Linked DNA regions of Homo sapiens: all the other regions are linked to region 3. Evidence: promoter capture Hi-C in 16 types of primary human blood cells and fetal thymus (Javierre and others, 2016). All regions are on one chromosome and are shown on one strand. The core of a region is centred on a gene start or on the middle of the fragment in contact, and the rest is flanking DNA. Distances in the headings are between cores, read along the strand shown. Region 1 has its middle 5.4 kb from the start of GINS4. Region 2 overlaps GPAT4 (glycerol-3-phosphate acyltransferase 4). Region 3 holds the start of RNF170 (ring finger protein 170).

Region 1 (3,141 bases), core at 639-3,138, 1.4 Mb before region 3:
TTATCAAAATGGTGCCCATGTCTATGATTCATTAACACAAAGAAAAGAAAGACATTAAAATTCAAGACAATAAATGAAATTTTGATACGGGGCACATTCTTGAACAAGGCTACCTTTTACCCTTTACTTTGACTATAATCAGACCTTTTCCCATCACTATAGGAAAAGAGAGAGAGAGAGAGCACGCATTGCCCTAAGGTGCAAGCATTTAGAAATACTGAGTTTGGGCCGGGTGCAGAGGTTCATGTCTGTAACCCCAAACACTTTAGGAGGCTGAGGCAGGAGGATCGCTTGAGGCCAGGACTTCAAGACCAGCCTGGGCAACATAGTGAGACCCCCGTCTCCACAAAAAAAAAAAAAAAAATTAGCCAGGCACGGTGGTACACACCTGTGGTCCCAGCTACTTGGGAGGCCAAGGTGGGAGGATTGCTTGAGCCCAGGAGTTTGAGGCTGCAGTGAGCCATGACTGTCCCACTGCACTCCAGCCAGAGAGAAAGAGAGATTGAATTTGGCCTGGCTTTTATTTAGACCTTAGGACAAGTCCCTCAAGATCTCTCAGCTAAACTATATAGACTTTAATAAATATGAAGCCTTAGGCTGGGCACAGTGGCTCATGCCTGTAATCCCAGCACTTTAGGAGGCTGAGGCAGGTGGATCACAAGGTCAGGAGTTCAAGTCCAGCCTGACCAAGAAACCCCGTCTCTACTAAAAATATACAAGTTAGCGGGGCGCAGTGGCAGGCACCTGTAATCCCAGCTACTCAGGAGGCTGAGGCAGGAGAATCACTTGAACCCGGGCGACAGAGGTTGCAGTGAGCCGAGATCATGCCACTGCAGTCCAACATGGGCAACAGAGTGAGGCTCCATCACAAATAAATAAATAAATAAATAAGACTTGCCCAACACTTGGGCACATAAGCTTCTCATCAAAGATGCCCATGATATAAAGGCACATGAATTTCTTTATGGAAAGGTCACCTTTCTCTTTGCTTGACATATTCAGAAAAGCATTAGGAAAATAATCTTACTCAACCAGCTACATGCTATGTTGGCCACAGTGTTTCATAAGATATATTTAATTTTTAAAAATTTTTTATGATTATTGTATATTCTACAACAAGCAAAGGGGCAGATAGTTCTTATATCTCCTTACAGAGTTTCAGAGGACCTAGGGTCTGAGGAGAGCAAAGGAATTAGGAATATCATAAATTGCCCAGATTTTCCATTTGTAAGGGAGACCCAAGCCTTGCCCGGCTTCCTGAGTTCTCCAGCATCCTGGCCATGCAGCTGGCATTGGGTGTTATCATTGGCCAGAAAAATACGTATAAGTTCACCAGCCAATAGCTTTCCTTATGAGCCTAAGAGAAAACAGCGTAAGCACACTTTTCTGCCTTCCTTAAAGCTCTTTGGGAGCCCAAGGCGGGTGGATCATCATGTCAGGAGATCGAGACCATCCTGGCCAACATGGTGAAACCCTGTCTCTACTAAAAATACAAAAATTAGCCAGGCATGGTGGCACACCCCTGTAGCCCCAGCTACTCGGGAGGCTGAGGCACGAGAATCGCTTGAACCCAGGAGGCGGAGATTGCAGTGAGCCGAGATCATGCCACTGCACTCCAGCCTGGCAACAGAGCAAGACTCCGTCTCAAAAAAAAAAAAAAATGCAAGCTGTCCTCTTACATGGCTGTCTGTAGTGCCAATCTTCATGCATTCAGAAAAACCGGGAGTTAAACTCAACTTAACTAAAACACTCCCAAATCTTAATTCTTTGGTTTCCAGGGCAGTGAGACCAAGATTGTGATGGAATTCAGAAAAAGGGACCCCTGAGAAACAGCTGCTGACCAAACAAGCAAGGGCACTGATATGAGAACAATAATAATGCCATTACTTGTATTCTGAAAGCATCTTTCTCCAGAAAGCTCACAATTCTGTATAGATATACAGTATTTACTGTTGTTTTTCCTTGGTGATTAAAACATTAAATTTGTTCTCATTAATAATGTATCTTTTTGGCCAGGTGCAATGCCTATAATCCTAGCACTTTGGAAGACTGAGGTGGGCGGATCACCTGAGGTCAGGAGTTCAAGACCAGCCTGTCCAACATGGGGAAACCCCATCTCTACTAAAAACACAAAAATTAGCCGGGCATGGAGGCACATGCCTGTAATCTCAGCTACTCTGGAGGCCAAGGCAAGAGAATCGCTTGAACCTGGGAGGCAGAGGTTGCAGTGAACCAAGATCATGCCACTGCACTCCAGCCTGGGCAACAGAGCGAGACTCTGTCTCAAAAAATAAAAATAATGTACCACTGGGCCAGGTGCAGTGGCTCACGCCTGTAATCCCAGCACTTTGGGAGGCCGAGGCGAGCGGATCACAAGGTCAGGAGATCCAGACCATCCTGGCTAACATGGTGAAACCCCGTCTCTACTAAAAATACAAAAAATTATCGGGCGTGGTGGCAGGCGCCTGTAGTCCCAGCTACTCGGGAGGCTGAGGCAGGAGAATGACGTAAACCCAGGAGGCGGAGCTGGCAGTGAACCGAGATCACGCCACTGTACTCTAGCCTGGGCGACAGAGTGAGACTCTGTCTCAAAAAATAGTAATAATAATAATAACGTATGGCTGTCCACAAATATTTTGGCTGTTTCTATTTGCTGTGTCTATAATTTCCATTAACATCTTCACTGAGAATATCTGAATATTGCTGTGGCTTGTCACTTTCTTCAGTTGTATAGGATCCTATTTTCTGTATCTTCCTCTTCCACTTTGGGCAGTAGCTTTTTCCTTCTCTTTCGAGGTAACTTCATGTTTTACTTGTCTGAATTCATGTTAGTATGTTCATCTTGCAATTTAAATCATCTAAGCTTGCCTGCAAATTCTATCCACAAACTTCATCCTCCTAATATAATAATCTATGTAATCACCTTTTATCTGTGATCATTTTAATGAATTGCATTCCATTTATATGGCTATCTTATTATTTCTAAAACACTTCTTGACAGTGGGTGCACATCAACCAGGTGTTCCTGATTTTTCTCTTCATTCTATATAATGTAATTGAAGACCTCTTTTCTCCCACCTTCCTGAACTTTACAGTGCCAAACGATCAACACCAAAAGTTTGTGTGTTGCTTTGGCATTTC
Region 2 (3,003 bases), core at 123-2,622, 1.3 Mb before region 3:
AGATCTAAGCCCTTTCTGCTGTACCATTTTCTTCACCTTGGAGAAATAGGGTGGGAAAGTATACACACACACACACACACACACACACACACACATCTTTCTTTCTTTCTTTGCCAGTTGAAGATACATTATTTTGAGTCTCCTTTAAAAATTTTTGATCAGTGCTGTCCCATAGAAATATTATATATGCTATATACACAATTTTAAATTTTATAATAATGCTTTTTTAAAAAGCACAAAGAAATAGATAAGGTTGATTTAATCATTCCACAAGGGGAGGGAGAGAGAGAGAGTGTGTGTGTGTGTGTGTGTGGGTGTATCTCAAAACATCACATTGTGCTCCATACATATGTAAAATTATGTATCAATTTTTAAGAAATTGACAAACAGTAATTTTACGTATTTATAGTGTACAGTAATATTTGCCCACATGGATAGAATGTGTAATGATAAAATCAGAGTATTTAGGATATCCAGCACCTGAAACATACATCATTTCTTTGTGTTGGGAACATTTCAAATCTACTTAACATTTCAAATTAAAATATACAAGAAATTGGCCTGACGTGGTGGCTCATGCCTGTAACCCTAGCACTTTGGGAGGCCAAAGTGGGTAGATCACTTGAGGTCAGGAGTTTGAAATCAGCCTGGCCAACATGATGAAACCCCTTCTCCACTAAAAATACAAAAAAAACTAGCCGGCTGTGGTGGCCTGTGCCTGTAATCCCAGGTATGAGGGAGGCTGAGGCACGAGAATTGCTTGAACCTGGAGGCAAAGGATGCAGTGAGCAGAGATCGCACCACTGCACTCCAGCCTGGGCCACAAAATGAGACTGTCTCAAAAAAAAAATAATATATATATATGTACAAGAAATTGGTAACTATAGTCATCCTACTTTGCTATTGAATACTGGAACTCATTCGTTCCATTTAAGTTTTTTTTTTCTATCCATTAACCAAGCTCTCAACGTCCACCCTTCCCAGCTGCTGGTATCTATTATATTCTACTGTCTATGAGATCATTTTTAGCTCCTATATATTGACTTTGATTTGAAAGTCAATTTAAATTTTTTTAAAAAAATTGTATAAAGTAGAAACAGGTGAAAATAATTTTAACAATATATTTTATTTAACCTAGTTTATCCAGAATATTACTTTGAAACATAATCAATATAAAAATTATTAATGGGATATTTTACATGCATTTTTTTCATGCTAAGTCATTGAACTCCAGTGTGCATTTTACATTCACAACACATTTTAAGTGCTCCAAGGTCACACGTGGTTAGTGGCTGCTCTGTTGGACTGCAGAGAATCACTGTCAGTGGAACATAAAGATGAAGGAATGTTTTATTTTGCTTAGTAATGTTCAGGTCTGAGGTTAGAGTTTGTGGTTGTGGTCATTGGTTTTTTCTTTCATGTTTTAGTGATTTTCTTTGCACAATTAGAAGTATTTTGAATTTGCAGAGAGATGAACAAAAAAGTCTGCTGTCACGAATTTGTGCGCTTGTGATGAAAAGGTTTCATTTTTTAAGACAGGGTCTTGCTCTGTTGCTCAGGCTGGAGTGCAGTGGCACTGTCATGGCTCACTGCAGCCTCAGCCGACTGGACTCAGGTGATCCTCCCACCTAAGCCTCCCAAATAGCTGGGATTACAGGAATGCACCACCACGCCCAGCTAATTTGTGTATTTTTAGTAGAAATGGGGTCTCTCCTTGTTGTCCAGGCTGTTGTTGAACTCCTGTCCTCAAGTGATCCGCCCACCTCGGCCTCCCAGAATGCTGAAATTACAGGTGTGAGCCACTGCGCCTGGCCAGTGATGTGTGTAAATTTAAAAGACTGTATTGGTGAAGATGTGGAACAAGTGAGACTTCCCTACGCTGCTAGTGGGAATACAAAATGGTACAACCCATTTTGGAATTTGTCATTCCACTCCTAGGTATTTACCCAAGAGAAATGAAGTATATGTCCATACAAAGACTTGTAGATAGCAGTTTTATTTGTAATAGCCTCAAACTGGAACAACCTTAGTGTCCATCAGTAGGGGAATGGATGAAGAAACGGGTATATCCATATACTGGAATACAGCTCAGCAATCAAGAGGAATAAACTGTTGACACATGCAGCAACATGGATGGTTCTCAGTATAATTATGCTGAGTGAAGTAAATTGGATAAAAAGATTTTTTGAACAAGAAAAAGGCCAGGAAGTTGCTTCTAATTACATATGCAGTACTCAGATTTCAAGAACTGGTATTGAAATTGAGCCATCAGAGCAGTGTTCAGGTCGAATAATGAATTGTCTTGGGTCTTAAAGCTCCAGCAAATCAAATTGTCATCATCAAAATAGCCTCTTTTTTTTGGTTTTGTTTTCTGTTTTTTGTTTTGCCAGCTTCAAGAGATGGTTCCGTTGCTTTGGGGTGAACTTGGTACCAGTGCCGTGTTACTTATCCAGTTCTAACTCAAGAAAGTTCTGGAGGGCATAATGATCTTAGATAAGACCAAGGCCCCGAACCTGACCATGTTCTGTCTTCTCTGTGAGTTGAATCATCCTTTGGCCAGTTGGATCCTGGCTTTGTCTTGGGTAATTTATTTTATCCAGGATTGATGCCAGCTATGTGTGTTCTGGGTTTTTAGCACTTCAGGTTCATGTCAACTGAGTCGCTCTGAGAGCTGCCCTGTTTGGAAACATGCAGTTTCCCCACTAAGCAACAGCTTCCTATTCAAGCAAATTTCTTACACTCTACCAGTCCCGATACACTCGACGTTAAATTCAGCGTAGCACACATTTCCTCATGCCTGTGTGTGCGTGTTTGTTTACATTACAGTTGGGGCATTTGGTGGGCCTATGTATGTTCTGACAGTAAACTAGGAGAAATGGATGCTTTTTTCTGAATTGTAATCCACCCTAAAGCAAGTGAGGAGTCAGCCTGGGAAGCAAGAAGTGCACTCGACTGGACATCAGATGGGCGTGTTAGTCCTGCCTCTGTTACCAGCCATTCCGT
Region 3 (3,178 bases), core at 518-3,017:
GACACCGCGCCTGGCCACGTATGTGTAATTTCTAAAGGTTTCTCTGCCCTTGGTGTAGGGAAGAATGTTTGAAAAAAAGACCATTGAGAATACTTCAGGTAAGTTTTTTTTTTTTTACACTTACAAAATGCTAAATGATCAGGGGTCAACTATCAAGTGGTACTCTGTAAGGCAACCTTAAAAACTCACTGCTGACCCAGGCTCGGTGGCTCACACTTTTGATCCCAGCACTTTTGGGAGGCTAAGGCGGGCGGATCACTTGAGCCCAGGAATTTGAGACCAGCCTGGGCAACATAGCGAGACCCCCTCTCTACAAAAAATAAGAAAATTAGCTGAGCATCGTGGCCTGCACCTGTGGTTCCAGCTACTTGGGAGGCTGAGGTAGGAGGATCACTTGAGCCCAGGAGGCAGAGGTTGCAGTGAACCAAGATTGCGCCACTGCACTCCAGAACGAGACCCTTTCTCAAAAACCACCATCAACAACAACAAAAAACCCCACTCAATGCTGTCTTGGCAGTTTTCAGTGCTCAATGAGAAAACCTACTCTTAATGGAAAAAAAGTGGGGGAAAGGGGTTCCAGGAACTACAAAGCAAAGTGTGTCTTGGGAAGTTAGCTTTGTTGCACTCCAAATAAAAATTTGGCATTGGGTGGTAGTTATGCATACTCTACGCATCGACAATTCTCTAAGGACTCCAAAGTGCATGTCCTGGAAATTCCAACATATTTGCACTACGTTCCAGGTACACTAGAATGTTTATAGCCATGTTCTGAGTGGCCTCAGTCTGAACAAAATGCCCAACCAGAGTAGAATGGATTCACTGTTCTATTCACACTGGAATACTAGGCAACAATTAAAATTACCTATACATACACAGTACACCAATTTAATACTGATTGAAAACCACAAAACAACACACTGTGATCCACCCGCAAAAGTTCAAAAACAGGCAAAGGAAAACGACATCGCATGCACACATAGATGGTAAAGCTGTAAGGAAATGATCACACTAGTCAGGCTAGGAGACAATCAGGCTCCGAAAGGAGCACAGGGCATGGGTGAGAAACTCCTGGGGTGCCGGTAATGCCCTTTTCGTTTTTATCTGGGTGTTTTATTAATTCTTCTTTAAACGTGTATGTCGTATGCACTTTTCTGCGTATGCTATATCTGTTAAAAATTTATCGGCAGCCCAGCAGACAGATTCGTGCCTCTAAAGAGGTGGAAGCTCCAGAACGATCCGCCTCGCCATTAAGCGAAGGCAACTCCGAACGCTGAGAAACGCAGGCCCGGGGTCGGCCGGTGTCCTTACGGATTGGCGAGCGGGCGCACACCCCTCCTGCATTAAGGAGAGTTCTCAGGGTCACGCTCCGAGCGACCCTAGAGGGAGCGGCGGTGTCCTCGCCGCCGCCAAACCCACCTAGAGCCGCTCTCCGCGTCGGCCCCTCCACCGTCGCCGGCGACTCCGGACAGCCGCGGGGCGATTCTGGGGCTTCCAGACGAGGGAGGGGCCCGGGGGGAAGGAGGCGGCGACTCCCGCCGCCCCGCAGAGCCTCGGCGGCCAGAGCTACCCCAAGAAGGCCAGACCCCGCCGTCCGCGGCTCCGCGGGCCCCGATAGGGTGGGCGTGGCCGCCGCGCGCCGGACGTACCTCTCCACCGCGAAGGAACTACCTCGCCAGTTCCCGGCGACAGAGGACAGATTATTTCCAGGACCGCTCCCGCCACCCCTCCCGGGCAACCCACTAGACGTCCCCTTTCTAATTTGGAGTGCGGGTGCGGGCGCACGCGCACTGCCGAGCTTCCGCGAGGGCGCGACCGGACGGCGGAGGAGGACCCGTCGCCGCAGCCTCCAGGGCGGAGCGCGTGCTCGCCTCGACACGCAGCGAACTGGTGGCGGGGGCGCGCCCGGCGGCAGCGGCGGCGGCGGCGGCGGCGGCGGCGGCGCGGCGGCGCGGGTCGGCCGGGGCGCGAGCGTGCGCAGTGGCTCCTCGGCCTCGGCTCCAGCCAGGGCGGCGGCGCTGGGGAGGAGCGGTGTGGGCGGCCGGGGGCGGGGACGCGGGGCGGCGGGCGTGTCCGAAGTCGCGCGCGGCTGGCGCGCGGTCCCGAGTGAAAGGAGAAGGAGGGGCGCTGGGGGTGACGGTGCGGAGCCGCTGCCAGCGCTGGGCGAGAGTCGGCGGCCGGATCCGAGGAGCAGGCGGGCCTGAGGCCGAGTCAGCTGCGCGGGCCCCCGGATCCCCCGACAGAGCGGCGGCGGTGTCTGGCCAGGCGGTAGGCGCTGCCTGGCCGCGGCGGGGAAGATGTTCAGCGTAGAGTCGCTGGAGCGGGCGGAGCTGTGCGAGAGCCTCCTCACTTGGGTACGTGGGGGCCGCGGGCCGGCGGGAAGACCCCCTCCCCCCGCCACCTACCGGGACCCTCCACGCGCGGCCCGTGGGGCGAGCGCTGCGGGCGACGGTGCCGTCACATCCGGGGCCTGGGGCGGGCGGGGCGAGGAGGCTCGGCCCAGGGTCCGAGAGAGACTTGCCGGGCCTGAGGCGTCGCTGTTCCGGGCGGACCCCGGCCGGGGCTGGGCTGGGAACGCGGCGGGCGACTCTGGGATCCGTGCGGCTGCTCGCAGCTGGGGCTGCGCTGCGCTCTGGGGGTGGCCGAGCCTGACTGCCCCGCGTCCAGGACCCGCCGCCGCTCCTCGCCTTTGTTGCCGCGTTCGCGGAGGACGGGCCCGGCTCCGGCCCGGGAACTGAAAGGACCTGTGAGGGAGCGTGGGGAGAATGCGGGAGGCGCCCGGGGACCCCGTTTCGGATGCAAGGCACCGCTGGCGGTGGGAGTGCGCGAGGGGCGGACGCCTGTCAGAGGCGTCGGGCAGACGTTTAAAGGAGTCTGGAGGTGTCTGGGCGTCAACAATGGAACTCGAAGGCCTTGGGGGACAGAGTCGTGGGATTCTGATTTTGAATTCTTAAACGGTTTTAGATTCCTCATACTTTGAAGTAAATACATGTTCACCTCTCACGTCAGCTGCCGCGCCTTCCTGAAGCCGGGTCTTCAGGACGCGGCAGGGGAACCGACGCCCGGGTTCCAGTCGTTCTCGCCGCGGCGCGGCCGGGGAGGGGGAGGGATGCGCAGAGCCCGGGCGGACCCCGCGCTGCCTTCGGGAGCCTCCGTTTCACTCATTGCTGAGAATGTTAAT

The links. The method cuts DNA at HindIII sites, captures the fragments that hold promoters and counts their contacts. A CHiCAGO score of 5 or more calls a contact.
Region 1: a contact is called between a fragment that was not itself captured here and the fragment with the promoter of RNF170 in region 3, in 3 of 17 cell types (total CD4 T cells, total B cells and activated CD4 T cells). The highest score is 5.6, in total CD4 T cells.
Region 2: a fragment that was not itself captured here is called in contact with the fragment with the promoter of RNF170 in region 3 in 2 of 17 cell types (total CD4 T cells and total CD8 T cells); the score reaches 5.9 in total CD4 T cells.

What each region holds. Positions count from the first base shown.
Region 1 is chr8:41,522,330-41,525,470 of GRCh38, forward strand. No RefSeq gene overlaps it. Among named protein-coding and RNA genes, the nearest start is that of GINS4, 5.4 kb to the right of the region's middle. The HindIII fragment of the contact is 1,945 bases long and covers 917-2,861 here.
Region 2 is chr8:41,582,383-41,585,385 of GRCh38, forward strand. All of the region lies in intron 1 of GPAT4 (glycerol-3-phosphate acyltransferase 4), which reads left to right. Among named protein-coding and RNA genes, the nearest start is that of GPAT4-AS1, 5.5 kb to the left of the region's middle. The HindIII fragment of the contact is 3,575 bases long and covers 1-3,003 here.
Region 3 is chr8:42,894,838-42,898,015 of GRCh38, forward strand. RNF170 (ring finger protein 170) reads right to left here and starts at 1,768. Exons shown (of 7, transcript NM_030954.4): 1 at 1,647-1,768. HOOK3 (hook microtubule tethering protein 3) reads left to right here and starts at 2,141. Exons shown (of 22, transcript NM_032410.4): 1 at 2,141-2,351. The coding sequence starts at 2,295. MIR4469 (microRNA 4469) reads right to left here and starts at 1,438; the gene lies at 1,360-1,438. RefSeq lists an enhancer at 885-1,446 and silencers at 1,353-1,564, 1,360-1,719, 1,900-2,689, 2,700-2,759. The HindIII fragment of the contact is 5,948 bases long and covers 1-3,178 here.